Regions from separate parts of the Homo sapiens genome. Here regions 1, 2, 3, 4, 5 and 7 are each linked to region 6. The links are contacts of gene promoters, found by promoter capture Hi-C in human tissues and cell types (Jung and others, 2019). All regions are on one chromosome and are shown on one strand. The core of a region is centred on a gene start or on the middle of the fragment in contact, and the rest is flanking DNA. Distances in the headings are between cores, read along the strand shown.

Region 1 (3,145 bases), core at 27-2,526, 220 kb before region 6:
CCAGGATGATGTTAATGACAATACATGACTCCTCTTATTATTAGGACCACTCAAGATGTTTAAACTCTATTTTTCCACTGTGCTTTCTACCTGTATGTCATTGGCGCTCTGTGCAGAAATAGAGGACATGCCCAGCTAGTGGGGAAATAAGCCAGTAATATCAGAGTCAGATTTCTTCCAGTAATACAAAAGATTTGGCCCCCCGAATTGTCCTTTTATTTATGGTTTATTCAGCCAATGCAGTGGCACACATTTGTCCTTATTTCTGCATAAAATATTCAACAGTGCATGCTCTTCTATACCCTCTACCATCTACATGAGAAGGATGATCCCACCCATCTCTCATGCCAAGATTCTTAATTGCCTTTTAGCATTGCTCTTCCATGGCACTAACCTCGCAAAAACTCATACTTGAGTAAATTCTTCACCCTGCCTATCCTAGTGCCATTAAGAATTGGTGGAAAATGACACAACTATTATGGGACAATTCATAAAAAGCACTCAGCACACTTGCAATCACATGGAGTACACAAGAGAAATTTCAAGCTATTATTATCATTAGTCCATTTTCTTTCACTCTTAATAATGACCATTGTAGATATTCTCTGTTCTCCTCCAGGCAAATGACCCCTGCAACTCCTTCAACTTCTTGTCACTAAACCAACAGGCTAACTTGCATCCATATCTACAATTGTGATTTCCCTCACTTAAAGGGGGAGATGTTCCTTTTCCTACTGTTAACTTTCCATGGGCATTCAACAATTCTGGACCCCTCCTGCCTTTTCAGGACCTCCTTCATTTAATCATTCTTTCCTGTTCCTATAGCTTCAATTATTTTGTTGAAAATATTTTCTACAGTCAGGAGAAAAATGTTCTAGGACTTCACCCCCACTCACCCTTCAACCCATTGAAAACTGGCTTTTAGTCTCTAACACCCCCTTGTAATTGGTCTTACCAAAGCCACCAAATTTTAGACAATGTCATTATGTAATCCAGGAATTATCTTAAAGAAATTCCCCCCAAAATGGAAAACGCGATTATCATAAGACATTCATTGGAAACTCTTTTATGCAAAAAATTAAAAGTAAATGAGATGTCCACAGTTAAGAGAATGTTAAATTACAGTGCATCTACCTGATTGAAAACTATGCAATTTTTAAAATGGATAATTGTAAGTCCATATCGCAACACATAAAAATCCTTCTTCAGCTAACTTTAGTAAGAAGGAACAAAGTTTTTATGAGTACATTGTGATTGCAATAATGGAAGATCGTTTGGATGAAAAACAAAAGGAAGAGAGCCCACGAATATCAAAAATATTGCATTTTAATGTTTGAGTGTTGAAATTATGATTGATATCTTCCCTTGTATTTGCCCAATTTTTTGTAATGTTGTGACATTGTTTTCACAATTTAAAAAAACACCTTTTCATAGACCAGACAATTCCTACATAAGTTATGCCATATCAGTAAACCTGCTAAGTTTTTGCAGCTTTTCTCACATTTAAGGAATATATCGAGGGACTGTTTATCTTTAGCCTTAAGATGGCTGAGGGATAAATAATTTTTTCATTTTCAGCTGATCTCTTAAGCTGCTTCTGTTTGCAGAACACTCTGTTAAGCTTGGAACTCGTCAAAAAGTGAATTGAAGTTGACTTTGATTGGCATAAATACCATATTTATCTTCTCAGATACGTAATCAGGAGACAGCTATCTGGCCACACTTGATTACTAACATATCTAAAGCTAATGTAATATCTAAGTTTATCATCTTGAGTATTAGAGATAAAATCTGAAGCCCTCAGAGACAGCATGCCTTGTTTACCTTGCCCTCATCTTTTACAAAGAGGCTGTAATGCATTTTTTCATTAATTAATATCAGAGCAAATTTAAAGACAAATAAATTACATTCATCACTGTAATTGAATAAGTCTTTTTTAAAAAGTATATGCACCATGCGGAATTAGCAATATTCTGATCAATAAGTAGTTAAGAGGGGTCAAAATGATTGACTACTCTAAATATCACACCAATTAAAAATAAATATACACAAATAAATAAAGTGCTCCTCTGTAACTCGTAGCATTGCCTCCCAGAACATAACTTTTATACCGGCTTACTGTTGCATTCAGCCTTTATCTCCAAGTCTTATTTCATGTATTTTCCAGGGATGGATGGATTATAGGACAAAGTCCCTCTCAGGAGCTCACCTTCCTGAGATATTGTCCTTCCTTTTCTACATACACCTATAAAAAGGAGAATACAAATATTATTTACTACTATTTAAGACCTGTCATTATGATCTGATTTTATAAAACAAATATCAAGTCTAGATTAGTACTGTTTGGGTGTGGTAGACAGTGTTAGGGGTAAACATTGGTAAATCAGCTTTTGCTCTGCAATTTTTCAAATTACATTCACCCAATAAATGTTCTTCCTTATTCCAGCTTCTCCAGTTTGTAGTGTCTCCAGTTCACCCCTACTCCCACAGCACCCCACTGCTATTATGTCTGGAATTGGTGGGTTCTTGGTCTCACCGACTTCAAGAAAGCAGCTGCAGACCCTCGCGGTGAGTGTTACAATTCTTAAGGCGGTGCAGCTGGAGTTGTTCGTTCCTCCCTTGCAGAGTTGTTTATTCCTCCCTGTGGGTTCATGGTCTTGCTGGCCTCAGGAGTGAAGCTGCAGACCTTTGCAGGGAGTGTTACAGCTTATAACGGTAGTGCAGCCCCAAAGAGTGAGCAGCAGCAAGATTTATTGCAAAGACCTAAAGAACAAAGTTTCCACAATGTGGAAAGGAACCGGAACAGGTTTCCCCTTCTGGCTTGGGCAGCCTTTTATTCCCTTATCTGGCCCCACCCACATCCTGCTGATTGGTCCATTTTACAGAGACCTGGTTGGTCCATTTTACAGAGAGCTGATTGGTCTGTTTTGACAGGGTGCTGATTGGTGTGTTTACAATCCCTGAGCTAGACACAAAAGTTCTCCAAGTCCCCACTAGATTAGCTAGATACAGAGTACTGATTGGTGTATTTACAAACCCTGAGCTAGACACAGAGTGCTGATTGGTGCATATATAAACCTGGAGTTAGACACAGAGTGCCAATTGGTGTATTCACAATCCCTTAGCTAGACACAAAGATTCCCCA
Region 2 (3,130 bases), core at 108-2,607, 130 kb before region 6:
ATCTAAGAATGGTAGTCTAGAAGGTTTCCATGGATACAGTCAAATATCTTATACTACTCCAGTTACGTTTCTCTGTTGGGCAAACAATCACACAAGATTTACTTCTCTTCCTAATTGTTCCTCCACAAAGGATGCTGAAGTAAGAGATGACATAACGGTGGCTTGTGTTCCACAGGACTCCCAAATGTTTCTTTTGAAGAGACTGAGTCACCTATTTATATTTGCGGAAGTAACCAAAATTATAAACAAAAGTATCTATCATATACAAGCTAGTAATATTTGTAGGAGTAAAAGCTCCAGAAGGCAGGAACGATCTGTAACATGAAACACCTCATGAGCAAAATGGAATTTTAGGTCATGAGTCCGTAGATTAAAGGCAAAGAGAAAATTTATCAAGGCTTGACCTTAAAAATGTGTTTTCAATTTCCTTCATTCGTAATTTTACACCCACATAATGTGGCAATAACCGTTTTATTCAAATTCTTAATATAGTCATTAAGTATAAGACAATGACACCCTGGATGGGTCAAATGGCATTTGAATAAAGAGATAAGCTTCTTTCCCAAAATCACTACTGAGTTCCTGGTTGAATTTGCCTAAATAATTAGGCTCTTTTCCTTCATAAACAAGTTCTCCACTTCAAAGTCCAAAGTGATTTGAGGAGCTGGTCTTTTCTCCAACAATCCCCAGATTAATAGCATTAGCCTAGAGTGAGCTGGGGGTGCTGTCCAGCACAGATGTCAAATCAGCGTGTCCATAACTTGGTTTCCTTTCCACTTTGCCCTGTAAAATTTGATCGTTGTGGAAGATAAAACTGCTCTTCCAAGGCTTCTGCCCTATCACATGGGACTTTGAGAGGCCATATTTTCATAGATTTTTGATTGACACAACATAGGAAGCTCAGCAACTCTGCCTGGAGGCCACCATGCTCCTTCAGGTAATTTCTAGGACCTCGAGGCCCCTAAGTAATGTGTAAACACTGCCACAACAACAAGCTTGTTACAGATTATGGTACTACCCCTGAAGCAAGACAAGTTTTTCAGTTTGCTACTTTGTTCCTACCCATTGAAAAAATATCTATCTCATATATTTTCCCCCAAATGCATTGAGCATGGCTTAAATTTACATTATCCTTCTAAATAAATTTAACCAAACACAAAGTATCTTCTATTTAAACAAGGATTTCCCCACTCTCATCTATAATTTTCTAATTTTATATTGAGTGTTTCTTTTTTCGGCTTGCCTTCTCCCCATCCCAGCCCATGATTGCCAGCCTCTCTATGAGAGCAAATTGCTCCCCATCTCCTCTGCTTCCCTCCTGTACTTACTACTTCCTACTATCAAGGATTAAAATCTCATCAACAATTGATCAGGAAAGTAAATCCTACTCGAAGGTCTCCAAGTGGTTTTTCTTCAGAAGTACAATGAATTTCCAACGTTAGTCACACTGCAGAGACTAATATAAATATTTATGCAGTGGTTTACTTATAAATGGAGGGTCATGCTTATATTGGTCCTGAGTTTTCTTACAGATAATTAACTGTATCATTGTCTCATTAACTAAATGTACTGTATCAACAAATGCTACCCACTCCAGGAACTAAATAAAATGTTTCATGGATATGAACTTTGCCATAAAAGAAAAGCGTGCAATACTGGGTAAATTAAAATTTTGACCAAAGGGAGAAAAATTTTTTTAAAAAGAAATGTGTAAAAAGTAACAGAATATAGCACTCTATTGTATCCCTTGTGGTTAAAAACAGTTCATAAAAGTATTACACAAAATAGATTTAACAATTTTATATTAGTGAAATAGCTCAAGCCTGTGGGTGGAGAAGTAGGTGGATAATAAAGTTTTTAAAAATCATTCTTTACATCAACAAAGGGTGAAGTCTGTTAATCATTGTGCATGACAACTTTTGTGTGTCTATTTAATTAGATATAAATGAATCACCCTCTTGAGCTATTTCATTTATTATTTGCACTCAATTAAGTGAATTTTGACCAAATGGGTTATAATTACAACAGCCATGCTGAATATAATAGTAAACATTTCCCTTTACTTATTTTCAGAGGAACATAGTGATTTCCTTATGTGAGTATAAATTTGTGTTTCCTCTAGTACACAAACTATGAAAGACACCAATGTCACTGATACCCAGATCCTCACTGGTCCTGTAGAGTATTTTATAATTCTATCAACCAAGTCACTTGAAAGGGACTAAAAGATCTTCTTTCTTTTTTGTCTCAATCATAAATGTACCAGGAACAAGGTTTCTTAATATATTAACGTTCTCAGTCTTCCTTCTTCCTATAAACCATGTCCACTAAAGACAATGTTACTAACAAAGGGCTCTTCCCTTACTGTCTCTCATGTGAATTGTAGTCTTAAGACAATGCTATAAATATACTACTCACCACCCTGGCTTGTCTGTGGAATTATTAGGAATCATTTTGCCCAGTGTTGTCCTTTCAAGCTATCTGACTCCTTCTGTATTAGATATGTCTTCTTTAAACTGCATAGAGTTGAATTTAAAAAAAAAACCAGTTCTACAATTGGAGCATCTCATCTATTTACATTTTGTTGTATTCTAGACTCAATCAAGTCTAACAGGTAGTTATGTGACCCTCTATGTGGGCAGCACAAGCATTTCTGCGTTCTTTAATTCCTTTGCAGAATGAAATGTATTTGTTTATGTGTATTTACATTTTACTTATATATATATGATACAATAAATATAACATTAATATTATTTATATAGGCTATGTTTATTTAGATTAACCCATGGATGTACAATTTGTCTTGCCCTGCATTTCTACCATCACTTTATTTCCTTCTGAAATAATTTTTCTCCTACCTAAAAATACCCTATAGTATTATTTTCAGTGTAGGACTGCAGGTGATAAATCTACTTCAATCTACTTCAACAAATGTAATATTTAAAATGTCTATTTCACCTTCATTGTTTATTTTATTTTATTTTATTTATTTTAAGTTCCAGGGTATATGTGCAGGATGTGCAGGTTTGTTACATAGGTAAACATGTGTCACGATGATTTGCTTCACCTATCAACCCATTGCCTAGGAATGAGACCAGCATGCATTGGCTATTTTTCCTGATGCTCTCCC
Region 3 (3,634 bases), core at 431-2,930, 200 kb before region 6:
TAAAATTGGAAAGAATGAAAGAAAACTGTCTTTATTTAAAGATAGCATGATTATGTAGGATGATATGAAGAATTTGTAAAAAATTGCCACAACTATTAAGTAAATTTAACAAAGTCATAAGATATAAAGTTAATGAAAAAAATCGATTACATTTCTTTATACTAACAATAAAGAATTGGATAATGAAATTAAAATTACTGTATAATAATATTTACAATTGCTCACCAAAATATAAAATACTCAGTATAAGTTTAACAAAAGATATGTAGTATCTCTGAATGAAAACTCTGAAATATTGCTGACAGAAATCTTAAAAGGCTTAGAAATGTAATTATACCAAAATTAAAATTACTGTATAATAACATTTACAGTTGCTCACCAAAATATGGAACACTCAGGATAAGTTTAACAAAAGACATATAGTATCTCTGAATGAAAACTATAAGATATTGCTTAGAGAAATTTTAAAGGGCTTAGAAATGTAGAGATACACCATATTTAAGGATTTGGAAAACTCAATATGCCAGAATGTCAATTGTCACCAAATTCACCTATAGATTCAATGCACTTCTGAGCAAAATTCCAGCAAAAAACTTCCTGTAGATATGGACAATCCTATTTTTAAATTTTTCTGGAAATGCAAAGAACCTAAAATAACCAAATTTATCTTAGAAAAGATGGATGATATAGGAAGAATACCTGCCTTCAAGACTTACTTTAAAGTTATAGAAATAAAAGGAGTATGACACTGGCAAAATAACAGAAGTATATCAATAGAACACAATAGAGACTCCGGAAATAAACCCATACATATATGGTAAAATGATATACACTAACAGAGCCCCAACAATTCAATAGGGAAATAAAAGTATTTTAACAAACAGTTTTGAAAAATATCCATATATTCACACTGACCTCACACCATCCACAAAAATTAATTTTATATATATCTTGGAGCTAAATGTAAAACTAAATCTATACAGCTTTCAGAAAATAAAATATAGAGAATTTTTTATAATTTGGGAGTAGGCAAAGATTTCACAGAGAAGAAACAGAAAACACTAATGATGAAAGAAATGATAAATTTGAATTCATCAAAATTTAAAACTTCTGCTCATCGAAAGAAACAAAACATTGAGAAAATATATATACTGTATGAGTCAAAATATTTGTGTCCTATATATCTAATTTATCTCTAGAATATACAAAGAACTAACTCCTACAACTCATTAATAACATGAAAAACAACTTCTCCACCAAAGAAATGGAAAAATGACTTGAACAGACACTTCACAAAATAAGATATGTGAATTGCACATATATGCGTGAAACAGTAATCAATATCCTTTGCCATCATTGAAATTCAAATTAATGAGATATCATTATAGTGTTATTAGAAGTTAAACAGAAAAGACAACATTAAATCCTGGTGAAGATATGGAACAATCAGAGTCCTATTTCCAATGGGAAGGTAAAACAGTAAAATCTCTTTGGAAATCTAGTACTTTCTTAAAATGTTAGAAGTACATCTACCCTAAGAACCAACACTTCTACTCTTGCATATGTATCTAGACAAATGAAAAAATACAACCGCAAAAAGCTTTGTATAGGAATATTTTTAGCAGCTTCTGTTTCTGTTATAATAACCCCAAACTGGAAACAGCCTGATTTCCTTAAATAGAACTGAAAATTCTGTGGCATATTCATACAATGGAATACTACTCAGCAATAAAAATGAACAAATTAAAAACATGAGCAATTACAAATATGAGCAATTACATGGATAAGTCTCACAAACATTTTGCTGAGTGAACAAAAGCCTCATATAAAAGAGTTCATACTATGATTCTATCTACAGAAAGATCTAGAATAGGCAAAACTACACTATGATGATAAGAATTAGACCAGTGAGGCTGGGCGCGGTGGCTCACGCCTGTAATCCCAGCACTTTGGGAGGCTGAGGCGGGCGCATCACGAGGTCAGGAGATCGAGACCATCCTGGCTAACATGGTGAAACCCCGTCTCTACTAAAAATACAAAAAATTAGCCGGGCCTACGCCCGGCGGGCGCCTGTAGTCCCAGCTACTCCAGAGGCTGAGGCAGGAGAATGGCGTGAACCCGGGAGGCGGAGCTTGCAGTGAGCCGAGATTGCGCCACTGCACTCCAGCCTGGGCGACAGAGACAGACTCCGTCTCAAAAAAAAAAAAAAAAAAAAAAAAAAGAATTAGACCAGTGATTGTTTCTGGATGCTGGAGATTAACTGGGAAGGATTATGAGAGAACTGATGGAAATATTTCATTGCTTGATAGTGGTACAAGTTAATGATTATGTGCATTTGTCAACACTCATGAAACCGTACACTTAAGATCAGCACATTTTTTGATATGTAAATTGGACTTCAGTTTAAAAAATTTGTTTGCCTTGTATGATGATCAGTTGGCATTCAACAAAAAAAGTGAGTAAAAACTAATTATAAGAGTGTACATTAGCCTGAAACTTATTGGCTCAAAGAAAATCAATTAGGCTTCTTAGCTTTTTTTTTTTTTTGCATTTACACACCCACTTACATTCAGTTTTTTAAATTAACCATTTAAAATATACATATAATATAAACATATTAAAATAATTCTCAGAAATAGGTTCAAAAAGATTAGAACAAATGATTCCAAGTAGGGTTGAAGTTAAAATGCAGATACTCCAGTCATAGAGATCTAAACAATTATTAAATTTGAGTTTTAAATTTGGTTTTGAAATTCTTGCTCACCCAAATAAAAAGAGAAGAAGCACAGTAAATTATATAACCCTCAATATTTAGCTTTAAAATGTCTAGTTTCACAGAGGGATAAAAGCTTTTTCTAGCGCTTAATCTTGTAAAATGAAGGAAAAAGGACAAGAAGATGAAGACTCCTGTGGCTTGTAAGATACTTATCACTAAGTTTATGTAGACTTGCTGTAAAATTATGAGACAGGTGAACACAGTAATTTCCCAATAGGGAAAGATAAAAAGCAAATACAACTTGACCGGAGAAAGAAAAGGGAGGTGAAACGAGTTTCAGGAATGCACTGTGAATGTGCAGGAACTCCACCACTTTCAGATTCTGCTTGCCCAAGAACACAGCCAGTCAGGTGTCTTTTTGATTCAGGCCAGGCGTGGTGGCTCACCCCTGTAATCCCAGCACTTTGGGAGTCAGAGGCGGGTGGATCACCTGAGGTCAGGAGTTTGAGACCAGCCTGGCCAACATAGTGAAACGTCGTCTCTACTAAAAATACAAAAATCAGCCAGGTGTGGTGGTAGGCGCCTGTAATCCCAGCTACTCGGGAGGCTGAGGCAGGAGAATCGCTTGAACCCGGGACATTGCAGTGAGCTGAGATCGCGCCATTGCATTCCAACCTGGGTGACAAGAGCAAGACGTCGTCTCAAAAAAGATTACTTTTGGTTCAAATTTTATATTTATAGGAGCAACACTTTTTCCTGAGTCATATGGAATATGCACATATACATATTCTATCTAATTAAATGTATATATACATATTTACATATGTACGTGTATATGTACATATTCTATATAATTAAAAATTACATATAATTAAATGTATTAAATTTAATTTAATATTTAATGTATTTAATATTTAA
Region 4 (3,588 bases), core at 889-3,388, 140 kb after region 6:
AACTCAAACAAGATGAACGAAGAATTTCACCTAGCTTTGTTTTCCGTTTTCATTCATTCATCCAAAGTAATTCTTTCCCTGCTGACATTGGACACATCACCCTTGTATCATACAGTGAGTGGCCCTGAATCCTGGGGCCATTTCTGTCTTGTTCCCACTAAAACATCAGGCTCTGCTTAAAAGCACACACCTAAATGTTTGTTGAATAAACTATGGAAATCCCTTCTACCTAGAGCCTAAGACATAGACAATGCCCTGACACTTTCTGTCTTTATGTCAGTCAGTGTGGATTCTGGGCCTCTGGTCGCACTCCCTCTAGTGAAATTCAAGGCTGTATAGACACACACAAAACAAGAAACTTCCAAATTTTAAAGAAATGTGAATAATTGGCATACATTTAGTATAAAGGGATTTTGTGAGTGATTAGATTCTTTACCTTTTCTCTAATTCCCAATCCATCTAAACTTGTCCTGCAGAAAAGTACACCTATAAAACAAATTTGACCAAAAAAAAAAAAAAAACAGAATCTGACCTGAAACCCTTCAGTTTATAGGTAGCTTCCAAAGCTACAGAGACGAGGTTTCCAAAATTTTTCTATTAACTGATTTTTTTTTGTTTTACTTGTTTTACTTGGCTCACTAACCAGATATATTTACTCCTAAGATAAATTTATAGCAATGGGTACTTCTGTATAATCAAGGCAAATAAATTAAGAGAGAGGATTAAGTAGTTTTTGATACTTATTTCGTGTAATTATATGGGAATCTGAGTTGATGACTTTGCACTTCATTTCTACCATGTGGCAGTAGGTAGCACTTTAATTCGCAGTGTCCGAAAAGCTCCATTAATAATTGTGCAAAGAGATAAGCCATAGGGTATTTGATTTTGTTACTTCTTCCTACAATAAAAGGAAGTATCTTTCTGGAAGAGCAGGTCTAAGTCTGTGCTGGTGAACAGAATCATGGGCAAGAGATGAATATATGATCCAAGGCAGATTCAACAGATTTAGTGACATCAGCCCACAAAATTTAGACGGTCTGAATCCCGTAACATAAAAGAAATGTGTCGGGAGGATGGGAGGGTCATTTAACAGAGCCACAATTTATTCTCAAGAAGGAAGGAATTCATTGCAGCACATAAACCTCTATGCAAATAAGAGCAATATAGTGTCTAAGGACACTGAGGATTAAGAATAATGATTCATTTCAACTTTAGGTCCAGAGACAATCCTGAGGCTGCCGGGGACATCTTCAAAAATGCCTCCTAAGCACATCTTATGTGAAATTTATCATGAGGAGAAATGGTCACGGGGGTGTGGGTGGGGTGGGGAATCTGGAGAAGAAGGGGCTGTAGCAGAAGAGAAAACAAATGATTCTCTCTAAGAGAAAAAGCTGCCTCTTCACTATATCATACAGAGAAAGTTTGGTCTGAACCTTGATTAGAAAGGGTGCCTTATGCCAAGTAAATTATGCTAATACCAGGGAAGCTGAATAGGTTTTACCTCCTATTGATAAGTATTGCCTAGTATGTAGTATTGAATGATTCAAAAGCCCTGAAATTATGGTTGATTACCTATGTCTAGTAAAGGCTCAAGAATGAAAGACACGGTTATTTCTGAGTCAGAAGAATCCCTACCTTCTTCTGATTCAGCAAGTATTCTTAAAGTGCTCTAGAAATTGTACCAATAGCCAAAGTGAGGTGCCCTCATACCTAACTGCTTTCTACAGCCCCCTACTTCCCTCAGAGATAAAGTGGCATCTTCATTTTGGTATATGCATTTGCTCTCTGTCAATTAGGCTCCAAGAATGTTTATTTCATCATACCTGGCTGCTTAATGTGGCCACTAGGAAATAGCTTAAAATAACTGTTGAAAACACTGGATTTTCATTCTCTCCTGAAATTTCACTGCTATATCGGTTTATTAGCTATCGAATATATCAGAAGCCATCAAATTTATCAATAATGAATTTGTTCAAATTTAGCTTAAACGAAGAATCAAAAATCAAATCCACTTGGAAACACATACGTGTGTCTTTATGTGTATAAAAAGGTGAAGACATGTGTGCATGTGTGTGTCTGTGTGTGTGTGTGAATTGGCAGCATGCATAAGCCTACTGAATCTTCTCCATCATTTTATTTTTTTCTTTTACCTACACCCTTTACAAAGGAATCTTCAGGATAACTGTTTCCAATTGTGCTACTATAAATTGATACTCACTAGTATATGTCCTCCCAAGTGGCATGTCTCTACAAAAAGACAGAAGTTGCCCTAAAAGGACAGGTTTCACAGATTAAGCTTCTATCCAGAACTACATTGCCCAATCCACATGTCACTATTTAAATAATTTAAATTTAAATGAATTTAAATTAAATAAAATTTCAAATTCAGTTCTTCAGTCACACTAGCTATATTTCTAGTGTTCATTAGGCACATGCAGCTTGCAGCTACCATATTGGAAAGCAAAGAGAACATTTCAACATCACAAGGAGTTCTGTCGGAGAAAAAGAGGAAGGAGAAGAGAGAGATTTTAAAATAATGAATAGGCTTGGGTAGATTGAATCAGACTTCTAATACAAAGCCTACAGCACTAAAAAAAGGGTGGCAGAAGAGGCACATCTCTGAAGCTGAAAAGAGTTAAATTGAGACCAGTTTCATTGGTAAGCAGCAAAATGTAAATATAGAGAACTTTACAACCGAAGGTAGTAGATAAAATGATTTTGGAAATTTATAGAAAGTCATAGATTGATAGTCAGTTGGGCTCTCTTGAAACCAAAAACACATGTCCATGTGCTATGTTAATAGAAATCTTTGAAGGAGCTATGACTTTACTTTTTAGTTATATCCAAAACTTCTATTCCATTTAGAATACCACAATTCAAATAAATATAAAATGATTTCCGATACTTTCACATTAAATTGTTCTTTAGTATTATGGGATCAAAATGAGGGTTAAGAGCATATCATGAGCAAATACCACATCATTGAATATTTATAAGCACTTGCAATGTATACAGAATTGTGCTGGTTTCTTTAAGAGGTAGCAGTTTAACAAAAGGCTGTCTTTATACTCAAGTGAATGTCATTAACAGAATAACTCAAGTTTGAGAGGGGCAGACAGTTAAAATATATGCCAGTCTGATTAATATGTAGTGATAAGAAGAATGCTAATATCTGAAATATTAACATGGCCTTTGTTAAAATAGTTCTATGCATACAACAAATGTATTTACAAACAGTGAAAATGAATTATGTCAAGAAAGTCAGTAGGTTTATTTTTGCCATGTACTGTAATTTTTTTCCCAAATTTGTCACCACTGTTATTGCAAGAAGAGGCACAAAACTGAAACACTGGCTCATCAATGTTTCTGAAATAAATGGAAAATTAATTATAGAATAGTATTACAGTCATTGTCAGTGAAGTCTTTGATTTAGGATCATACCTGAAATAACTCTAAAATGTAGTAGTTTTAAGTTGTTTCTTTGGAAATATTTCAGTTGCTCAGTGACCTGATAAGTCAATTTTGTAAAAAATGCAGAGCTTTTCTTTGTTGAGTTTTTAGATGTTACCCATGGCAGAGGTCTTGGCA
Region 5 (3,429 bases), core at 50-2,549, 180 kb before region 6:
ATCAAGAAGTCATTGCCTTCTGTTTTTGCTTGTTTATTTCTTAAAAATCTAATTAATAGAAATCTCTTTCTTTTTTTAACATTTTTACCTTCATTTTTAATATAATTTGTTTACTTGTGGATTTACATCATTTAATTTTTTGCAATTTTAAAAAATTGTATTCTTTTTTTTTTTTTTTTTTTTTTTTTTTTTGAGATGGAGTCTTGCTCTGTCGCCCAGGCTGGAGTGCAGTGGCACGATCTCAGCTCACTGCAAGATCTGCCTCCCAAGTTCATGCCATTCTCCTGCCTCAGCCTCCCGAAAAATTTTATTCTTAATTGATAAATAATCATTGTATTATTTACGGAGTACAATGTGTGGGCTACATGTGTTTACATTGTGAAATGATTAAGCTAAAATATGCCTTTCTTTTTTTTTAGTGGTTCTGCTCTCTAGAACAATAGAAAATACATTGAAACTCACTTATTTAAGACTGTTAATTCTGATTCTTAAGTGTTACTTTCATGGTCTTCTTTCTTCCAAGATAAATACCCCAATTCCCTCAACCAAAGTTTCCATGGCACAGTTCCTAGGTTCATTGTGCCCCCTTCCTCCATAGGCTTTCATCTATCATTTTTAGGCAATATCAACAGATATCCAAAAGATAGGCAATGACAAATGCTGGTGAGGATGTGGAGAAAAGAAAACACCTGTACACTGTTGGTGGGAATGTAAATTAGTACAACTGCTATGAAAAACAGTTTTCAGCTTCCTCAAAAACTTAAAAATGGAGCTACCATATGATCCAGCAATCCCACTGCTGAGCATATACCTAAAAGAAAGAAAATCGGCATATCAAATAGATATCTACATTCCCATGTTTGTTGCAGCACTGCTCACGATAGCTAAGATTTGGAAGCAACCTCAATGTCCATCATCAGATGAATGGATAAAGAAAATGTGGTACATATACACAATGGAGTACTATTCAGCCATAAAAAAGAATGAGATCCTATCATTTGTAACATGGATGGAACTGGAGGTCATTATGTTAAGTTAAATAATCCAGGCACAGAAAGACAAACATTACATGTTCTCACTTATTTGTGGGATCTAAAAATCAAAACAATTGAACTCATGGACATAGAGAGTAGAAGGATGGTTACCTTCTACTACCTTCCCGGAATCTGGTTACTTCCGGGTAGTGGGGGTCTTGGGAGAGAGAAGATGGGGATGGTTAATGGATACAAAAAGATAGTCAGAAAGAATGAATAAGATCTGCTGTTTGATAGCACAAGAGGGGACTATAGTCAATAATAACTAAATTGTACATTTTAAAATAACTGAAAAGTGTAACTGGATTGTTTGTAACACAAAGGATAAATACTTGAGAGGATAGGTACCCCATTCTCTATGATGTGATTATTTCACATTGCATGCTTGTATCAAAACATCTCATGTATCCCATAAATGTATGTACCTACTATGTACCCACAGAAATTTCAAATTAAATTTTTTTGAAAAGATTGACAGATAAGCTGGAGTATAATATGACATTTATACTATGGATTCATTCACTGTACATCTAAGTAACACAGAAGAAGTCACCCGATTGCAAAGTGTACGGCAAACTGTTCTCGATCACAGGTTCTATCACCTAAGCCATGTTAGCTATAAACTCAATGTAATCAACTAGCTTGTGCTTTCTCCTCAATAAGATTTTGTAAGACTTAGAGAAACATGCACAATATGTTTAAGGAAGCAAATTTTGATTCATCAAGGAAGGTGAGAAGTCTGCTCTCTTGTAAGTTAACAAACTGACTCGTATATTATCTGGCAACTAAATACGACACGGAGCCAGATCACTTCAGGGTGCTAGACTTTGGTTTGTTGCTATATCCTAGTTAGAGGGAATCATCACAAAAATGTGAATGAGGCTGGTGGCCTGAACTGCATTAACAGGTTTCTACCGCATTCCTGAAATACAAAAGCATGGTGATATGGTTTAGCTGTGTCCCCACCCAAATCTCATCTTGAATTGTAGTTCCCATAATCCCCACATGTCCTGGGAGGGACCAGATGGAGACAATTGAATCATGGAGGTGGTTTCCCCCATACTGTTCTCGTGGTGGAAAATACATCCCACAAGATCTGATAGTTTTATAAGGGGAAACCCCTTTCGCTTGGCTCTCGTTCTGTCGTCTGCTGCCATGTAAGACATGCTTTTCACCTTCCACCATGACTGTGAGGCCTCCCCAGCCACGTGGAACTGTGAGTCCATTAAACCTATTTTTCTTTATAAATTACCTAGTCTCAGGTATGTCTTTATCAGCAGCAAAGAAACAGACTCACACACGGTATTGTAACTCTATTTGTCTGCCAAAAAGAAGTCAGAGCAAAAGGCAAAGTACTATGTTAAATTCTCATGAAACTTCTACTTAGCCTAATTAATGTGAGAAACCGGTCCGTCTCATTTGTTCAGATTCCTTTATGGGGGTTGGAGATGGGCCATTCATGGGAGATAGAGCCATGATAGAAGCCCTGAGGCCACTGAATGTCCACATGAAGGGAAGTCAGAAGATCAAGAGGAGATTCTTTTGTTTGTTTGGTGTTTTTTGTTTGTTTGTTTTAAGCAAAGAGAACTCTATAGAGTAGGACAATAGTCATACATTCACTGTAGAAAGGGTAAAGAAATGCACTTCAGGTGGATGCAGAACAAGTCAGCATAGAATGGGAATCAAGATTTCAAAGGCAGAGAAAGCATCAGAGCTCTGCTTCAATATGCATTTCTGGTTATAAAATTGTGGGTTGATTTAATAGTTGAAAAAATCCTCTGCATTGTCTTGTTACATGAAACTTAACCAACACCAAATCTTCACCGCACTCCAACAACTCACAAAAATAAAACACTTGCAGAGGTTCTTAATCTGAGACAGAATGTGGAGGGGCCAAATTCTTAGATGGGGAAGAATTTTCATTTTTATTTTTACTAACCTCTAACATGTATGATTTTCTTCAATTATCCCTGTGACAAGCAATAAATCACAGTTGTGTTAGGGGATCCCTGCACTTCACCAAGCTGCCACACAAGTCTATGACACACCAAAGGTTAAGCACAGCACATACGGTAAATTTCGGTGAGAAACCATGCCCCAGACCTTAGGCTAGATGCAGGTTTTAAAACAAATTACTATAGCACAGCTTTAAAAAGAGGAACTACAGAATTACTAATAATTCCAGCCAATGTTTAGTGGAGATATTTCTTCTGACATTCTAACCAAGTGATAATCATATTTAAGTGTTATTAAAGAATTAAATAATACCATAAAAGTATATAGCCCTGGAACTTGCTCTATCATCTGGCATCTAGCTACTTGACTGCTATAATCTAATTGTAAACAAAAACAAAACTGAATACAAAATTTCCCTAAAGTCTTTAAATATAAGGTT
Region 6 (3,648 bases), core at 624-3,123:
AATGTTTAAATTTTTGGATTTTGAAATTCCTGTTCACTCTAAAGAGAAATAGAAATCTAAAATGATAACAACAACAATAATAATTAGACAATGTTTACAAAGCCTTTGGAATTTTCAATATTCTTGTGTCTCTGCTTGAAGCAACAAAATTAAAATGATATAGTCACAATTTGTTTCTTGACTATTTTATATTCAGTAATTTTTAATGAAGCAACTAAATTAGGCATAACTTTGTACAGCTTTAACATAGTTATGATGAATATATTTTACTTGATTAAAAATGATAAAACCAGGGAGCCTTAAATATTATCTTAAAAGATTAACTACTGTGTCAATTACAAATCTAGGAGAAAGATATTTATAAAGGAATAACTATTCTAAACAGTAACTTCCTTTTGTTCATTTCATTTAATTAATGACTCAATCAACTTTCACTCTTAATACTAAAATTTTCCTAAATTACACATTGGTTTGCAAATGGGATGGCATATAGCAGGGCTACGTCAATTTAATACTGGTGAAAATTCAGCAGATAATTCATTTTTCATTTAATCAGGAAGGAAAAAACTACTTGGCAGTGTAGAGCGACCTAATTAACTAAATAACTGCCAATTCTACATTGTACTTTGTGTTACATGACATATCATGAATAAATACCAGTCAAAAATCAAATTATTTGGATACTTAAATGATGATGAGGCCTGCTGTGCCAACAGGTATGCTAATGAGTAGACATCTCCCAGCCTCAAGACTGAGTGAATGAGGCAAATATTTTCACCTCCCAATCTTTTAGGGTGTTCAATTAACTCAAGTATTTAAGAAGTTCCCTACTATTGGGAAGGAAGTAGATGTAATCATCTATATGCTTATTTTGTCAACTGAGTTGGAAAAACTTGCAAAGGAACAGTTTGGATATATGTATTAGATTTTTATCAAAATACAAATAAATGGTCATAGATGACAATTTTCACCTAAGGAATACAAGTAAGTTTATCTATGTTCAGTTACCAATCGCCTCTAACTAAAGTTAACAATGTCTTCCTTCTAAAACCTTTCTAAAGAGCACCCTGCAATCACACCTTCTAGCAACAGCCATTTCTCTTGAATTAGTAAGGTGGCTACACCGCCAATTTGAGCTGTTCTCCTTCAGTCCTGTAGTCCATCGCCAGGGGAGTCTCCAAATGCTAATAAAAATCAATTTCCCAGACAAAAGAACATATACACGTTTTTTTCTTTCTTTCTTTCTTTTTTTTTTTTTTTTAGAAGAGGGTCAGGGAGCATCTGACGGACGTTTTTAAAGGAAGGGGACAGCTACTTCCATGGGACTGCATTTTAGTTGTGCTAAAAGTGATGAAAGTGGGTTTGCATTATTCTACCACCAACACCCAAACCACCTGCCCACGGAAACCCCCGCCGGAGACCGAAGTTTACCCAAATAGCGCTCGGCAAAGCGCTGCCATAAATTCAAAACTAACTCTGCCGGGCCCGCGGGGGTTGCGAGACAGGGACCGAACGTGAAACCCGGGGAGCCCCGCGTCTCTTGCCTCCGAAGGTTTTCCGTGATCAGTGTCCCCTTCTCTGCTGGAGTCGGAAGTGCCTGTCACCTGCGGATCTGCCCGACTCTCCCGGTCGGCCCTTCTTCTCTGCCCAGTTCGGACAGTCTCGAATTCCCCGTCGCAGCCCCGGCCACCTCGGACTCCCTGGTCCCCAGCCCCCGCCCCACCCCCCGCCTCCACCACGTCCCCTCCCCGCGGTCCCAGCCTCTCCAGGCGCTGCTGGGCTCTGATTGGCGGCTGCGCTGACAGCAGGCGGGGCCTGGAAGTCGCGGCCAAGCCCGCCCTCGCGTATAAGCCCCTCTCAGCGCTCTCTCTCCATCTCTCCCCTCTCTTTCTCTCTCGCTGCTCCCTTCCTCCCTGTAACTGAACAGTGAAAATTCACATTGTGGATCCGCTAACAGGCACAGATGTCATGTGAAAACGCACATGCTCTGCCATCCACACCGCCTTTCTTTCTTTTCTTTCTGTTTCCTTTTTTCCCCCTTGTTCCTTCTCCCTCTTCTTTGTAACTAACAAAACCACCACCAACTCCTCCTCCTGCTGCTGCCCTTCCTCCTCCTCCTCAGTCCAAGTGATCACAAAAGAAATCTTCTGAGCCGGAGGCGGTGGCATTTTTTAAAAAGCAAGCACATTGGAGAGAAAGAAAAAGAAAAACAAAACCAAAACAAAACCCAGGCACCAGACAGCCAGAACATTTTTTTTTCACCCTTCCTGAAAACAAACAAACAAACAAACAATCATCAAAACAGTCACCACCAACATCAAAACTGTTAACATAGCGGCGGCGGCGGCAAACGTCACCCTGCAGCCACGGCGTCCGCCTAAAGGGATGGTTTTCTCGGCAGAGCAGCTCTTCGCCGACCACCTTCTTCACTCGTGCTGAGCGGGATTTTTGGGCTCTCCGGGGTTCGGGCTGGGAGCAGCTTCATGACTACGCGGAGCGGGAGAGCGGCCACACCATGCGAGGTAAGCGAGTCTGCGGGCACCGAGGCTCCCCGAGTCCGGCCAACTCCAGCCAGACGGGGAGATGGGGGAGGGGAGGGCACCCAGCAGAAAGGGAAAGAGGTTGCCCAGGCGCAGTTCCCCGAATTCGCTCTCGCAGGTGGGGCTGCAAATGGCCTGGGCGTAGAAAGTTGCGGGAAGGTGTTGATGTCTTTCGGGAGTTCTGGAGGGACGCGGGAGGGCGCTTTTTTGGAGAGGGGAGACAGGCTAGTTGGTTCTTACCAGTCCTTGAGTTGCACTGAATCTTTTTTGCTTGTCGCTCTCGGGTGCGGAAGCGGACGCGGGATGGAGAAAGCCGAAAGAGGGATGCCTCTGGACAGGAGCAGTTTGGAAGCGCCCGGCGCGCAGTGGTCGCCGGCCGGGTTTGGGCGCGCGGGGCGCACCGGCCGGGGGCAGGGTGGACACGCGCGGGCACACACTCGCCAGGTTACGAGGCCCACTAAGCGTCCTGGCCAGCAGGCATGTCCCTTCGCTGGAGTAGCAAGCAGAAGAGCAGTGCTGCGAGGCTGGACGCGGCTGAGGAAACAGTTAGTTCCCCGGCACGCGGCTGAGGAAACAGTTCTGCGGCGCGCGCCTTCGTGCCGGCGCTGCGCCCTGGCCAGGTCCTCGTGCCCGAGCCCGCGCGGCCCAGGGAGTAGTGCGACCCCGGAAAAGTTGTAATGAGAAAGTTCTGGAGGCTTGGAAAGGCCACACTGCTCACAGTCGGAGAGTCATGGGCTCCGGCTCTTTTGTCAGATAAAGGGCCGGTAGTGGAAGGAGGTGCTGGTGCACCCTCGGGCCAGGACCCTCGCAGTCGCAGGCGGTGGCGGCGGCGGCGGCGGGACCCCGGGGCGAGCTGGGGTCTGCAGGGATGCGCGCCAGGGACTGTAGCGTTACGCTTGCTCCGGCTGGACTCTGGGCCTCTCGAAGGGCTGGAGGGTGGGTTTCGGGGAGTCACTTGGTCTCCTCTCCTGCCTTGCCGGAGACCTCAGGTTTCCTTCGCGCTGTGCTCGGCCTTTCTTCACTCTTTTACTGAAGAGCCAGGCGGGTGTCCGCTTGACATGGGGATCTGTGCAAGCTCTGGGCACCCACCCCCACTCCCAGTCCCTCT
Region 7 (3,213 bases), core at 241-2,740, 160 kb before region 6:
TAAAAGAACTAGTGTGAGTTGTTTCTACTCCTTTTAGTGTTACAAGTTGAACATCCCTTTGATTATAAATCTGCTTCCAATTCTCGTTATAGGGGTCTGAAGAAACTGGCAATCACTGATATCAAGTAGAAGAAACATCTAAATGTTAAGAATAATAATGTTCATTAAGTACCCCCCCAAAATCCGGAAAAACATTCAATGATTCCTATCTTACTCCTTCAATGATAATAAATGTTTACCTAATCAAGGGAAGGCTCTTGGAAGAATGCATGTTTAAAATCCCATTAACAGCAATGCAAGAGAAGAGCCCAAATGATGAACTGTGTACATTTTAAAGTGAAAATTCATACCACAGGAATGCCCACATATCAAACAAATCAATGCAAGCAATCAATCATCTTAATGAAAGCTTATGGTTAGCAGGTATAAATGCCACTGTGATCTCTCACACTTACAAGAAGAAAACTGATTGTGGATATAAACAATTCACTGTGGTTACATATAAATCAACTTCAATAGCAAGAACTAAAAGGAAACATAATTGAACTTCGTTAAACATCTACAGTCTCCTCATTTATCTTTCAAAAATAGAGCACCAGGCACTGTGGCTCATGCCTGTAATCCCAGCACTTCAGGAGGCCGAGGTGAGCAGGTTACCTGAGGTCAGGAGTTTGAGACCAGTCTGGCCATCATTGCAAAACCCATTCTCTACTAAAAGTACAAAAAGTAGCCGGGTGTGGTGGTGCACACCCATAATCCTAGCTACCTGGGAGGCTGAAGCAGGAGAATTGTTTGAATCCGGGAGGTGGAGACTGCAGTGAGCCAAGATTGTGGCACTGTGCTCCAGCCTGGGCAACAGAGCAAGACTCCATCTCAAAAAAAAAAAAAAAATAGAGGAGAGCTAGAGGGATTTTGCTGCCAGTAATTAGACACTTTTCCTCTAAAAACCCATCAACGGCTGTTTCAAACAAAACAATGCCTTCCATTTGAATCACTGAAGTTCAAGGGAAAGGGAAATTAGAATGTAAGCATGGCAGACTGGTTCTTGAGATAGTCAAGTGTCCAAGTTTGAGCCCAAGTTCTAAATCTTTCACATCTAATAGAACAATAATTTATTGAGTGGTTAAGAAGGAATTATCAGTTGCATGAATTGCATGTCTTCTACTAACTCTGATGGGTCATATATAATACTTCTATTGATGTAGACATTGGGTTGCGGCTAGGGCTACACTGACTAACAGTGTGATCTTCATTATGTAAGTGTTCACCTCTTTACTTGGGATAGGTGTGAAATATCATTATCAAATTTAGCTGGGCTAAGTTGTAATCATCAATAAACTCTTTCAGTTACCCTAAACCTGCCATTTTGCAAAACTTACTACAAATACTGGCAATATCATCAATTAAAATTTCAGCTGGTGAATCATACCTGAGGTTTTCTAGTTTTTCACCAATGCTACCTGGTGAGTTCACCCACAAAAGAAAATCAGGAGATATACTCATAACCCCCTATATATGTGGAAGATTCACATGGAATTAACAAAATCATTTTAGCAGCACATTACAATTTAAGCAATCAACTTGGCTGAAGAGTGGGGGGGAATCTATCACACTATAGTTTGATGTTATGCTGATGAAACAATTCATTGACCAATAACTTTTATTTTTATCCAGTTACCTCAGATGTGTTATCTCACTCACTTGATAAGAACTTCTACTTTAAAAATGAATTTTTTACCTTTGGTTTCTGGTGCTCCATCCATTCATATATTTTTATGTCATTTGAAGCACTTTAGTTAAGGTAAAAAATATGGATCAAAACATGAAAAAAATATGTGCTTCATCTATTTAAGTGTGGCATTAACACTTAAATATAGAAATATATTCTATAAATCTACCCTCTGCATCTCCAAGACTATTTTTTGCCTCTTCAATCTCAGTCCACAGACTTTCCATTTATTCCAAGAATAATGAAACTGTCAACCAATTATCTTCTGTTAATGGATGTTCAATTACTTATACAAAGGGCCAAAATAAGCACCAGTTACTACAAAACACTTGTGTGTAATTCAAATCAGAAACAGAGGGACTTTAAAAGTCTCTTAATATGGCAAGGGCAGGAAGTGCTGCACAGACTGAAGGCGCCCCATAAAAATCAGAGGGGATGGAAAGAAGATGCAACCAGAAAGGAAAGAGTAAGATTTCAAAAAGCAGTCTTCATTGAGAAAGCTAAGCTGACAAATACATGAAGATTACAGTTGGCTGCTTTGAGCCCTCTTTCTCTTGGGAATACTTCACTTGGCCCAATATTCCCTAAGGGTTGGTCCTTGAGAAGTAAAATGCCTCAAGGGATGTCTCCAGGCATGAAAGTGATTGTTCTTCTCTATTGAGCCTTATGGCTCCAAAATTGACAACAGTACAAAATGCTTTTTTAAGTAGTCATAATCTCAGCTAGATAAATTTTGTCCAAACAAGAAAAGATGTAACAACAAATGACACAAAAACTTTGCATAGGAGTTAGAAGGCCATGTCAGTTGCCAACAAAAAATTAAGGTTGTAGGTTCAGCTTAAGCAACGGTAACTGAAGATGGCAATCACAGAAATGAAGTCCTCAGACCTGAACCTGTTAGCGGTGGAAGAGATCTGAGTTACCCTGAGTTACAGGCAGCGAATCTGTACATGACTGCAGCAACTTCAGCTCTTGCCTACTCAGAAGAAAGAATTCGACTGAGGAGCATAGAGCGGAAAAAGAGACCCAGGCAAGTTCCAGAGCAGGAATGGAAGTTTATTAAAAAGGCCTTAGAACAAGAAAGAAAGGAAAGATCTCTTGGAAGAGACCCAAGTGGCTACCTGAATGTCAAAGAGAGAAAAAGAAAGCTTTTTACCTTGGACTTTATAGGCTCACTTCTTTCCCATGACTCTTCCCTTAGGGTGGGATTTCTGCAAGCACGGTGCCCTCCTTACCCTGGAGAACTGACCACAGGCAGTGTGTTTATGGAGTTATACACATGCCCATCTGAGGCTCTTTTCTTTTCTGGAAGATCATACTTCACCATTTTTGTCTCTTAACATGCATACACAGGAAGTTGCTTCTCCCTGGGGCCTAGATTCAATTAACATTTTGATGTGGACCATCAGGAAATGGCCTCTCCCTGGCAACAGCTGCCAATTTGTCACTTTTAGAGAGGCAATGTGATCATTGCCAAACCATCA

What was found. The method cuts DNA at HindIII sites, captures the fragments that hold promoters and counts their contacts. A contact is called where the count stands out against the background at its distance.
Region 1: a contact is called between a fragment that was not itself captured here and the fragment with the promoter of RORB in region 6, in 2 of the 25 tissues and cell types used here (lymphoblastoid cells and mesendoderm cells).
Region 2: a fragment that was not itself captured here is called in contact with the fragment with the promoter of RORB in region 6 in 4 of the 25 tissues and cell types used here (hippocampus, mesendoderm cells, spleen and 1 more).
Region 3: a contact is called between a fragment that was not itself captured here and the fragment with the promoter of RORB in region 6, in 4 of the 25 tissues and cell types used here (H1 embryonic stem cells, IMR-90 fibroblasts, dorsolateral prefrontal cortex and 1 more).
Region 4: a fragment that was not itself captured here is called in contact with the fragment with the promoter of RORB in region 6 in 2 of the 25 tissues and cell types used here (H1 embryonic stem cells and lymphoblastoid cells).
Region 5: a contact is called between a fragment that was not itself captured here and the fragment with the promoter of RORB in region 6, in 3 of the 25 tissues and cell types used here (H1 embryonic stem cells, dorsolateral prefrontal cortex and mesendoderm cells).
Region 7: a contact is called between a fragment that was not itself captured here and the fragment with the promoter of RORB in region 6, in 2 of the 25 tissues and cell types used here (H1 embryonic stem cells and spleen).

Annotation. Positions count from the first base shown.
Region 1 is chr9:74,272,577-74,275,721 of GRCh38, forward strand. LOC101927329 (a long non-coding RNA gene) reads right to left here and starts at 2,810. Exons shown (of 5, transcript XR_242624.4): 1 at 2,537-2,810; 2 at 2,210-2,245. The HindIII fragment of the contact is 7,237 bases long and covers 1-3,145 here.
Region 2 is chr9:74,361,867-74,364,996 of GRCh38, forward strand. All of the region lies in intron 1 of LOC105376087 (a long non-coding RNA gene), which reads right to left. Among named protein-coding and RNA genes, the nearest start is that of RORB, 130 kb to the right of the region's middle. The HindIII fragment of the contact is 7,043 bases long and covers 1-3,130 here.
Region 3 is chr9:74,299,844-74,303,477 of GRCh38, forward strand. No RefSeq gene overlaps it. Among named protein-coding and RNA genes, the nearest start is that of RORB, 200 kb to the right of the region's middle. RefSeq lists a silencer at 2,970-3,264. The HindIII fragment of the contact is 4,874 bases long and covers 1-3,634 here.
Region 4 is chr9:74,635,452-74,639,039 of GRCh38, forward strand. All of the region lies in intron 3 of RORB (RAR related orphan receptor B), which reads left to right. Among named protein-coding and RNA genes, the nearest start is that of RORB-AS1, 140 kb to the left of the region's middle. The HindIII fragment of the contact is 3,945 bases long and covers 167-3,588 here.
Region 5 is chr9:74,318,492-74,321,920 of GRCh38, forward strand. No RefSeq gene overlaps it. Among named protein-coding and RNA genes, the nearest start is that of RORB, 180 kb to the right of the region's middle. The HindIII fragment of the contact is 9,047 bases long and covers 1-3,429 here.
Region 6 is chr9:74,495,462-74,499,109 of GRCh38, forward strand. It overlaps RORB (RAR related orphan receptor B), which reads left to right and starts at 1,874. Exons shown (of 10, transcript NM_006914.4): 1 at 1,874-2,522. The coding sequence starts at 2,516. It overlaps RORB-AS1 (RORB antisense RNA 1), which reads right to left and starts at 3,092. Exons shown (of 5, transcript NR_125791.1): 1 at 2,781-3,092. RefSeq lists silencers at 1,510-1,722, 1,718-1,907, 1,812-2,106. The HindIII fragment of the contact is 7,823 bases long and covers 1-3,648 here.
Region 7 is chr9:74,335,943-74,339,155 of GRCh38, forward strand. No RefSeq gene overlaps it. Among named protein-coding and RNA genes, the nearest start is that of RORB, 160 kb to the right of the region's middle. The HindIII fragment of the contact is 3,601 bases long and covers 1-3,213 here.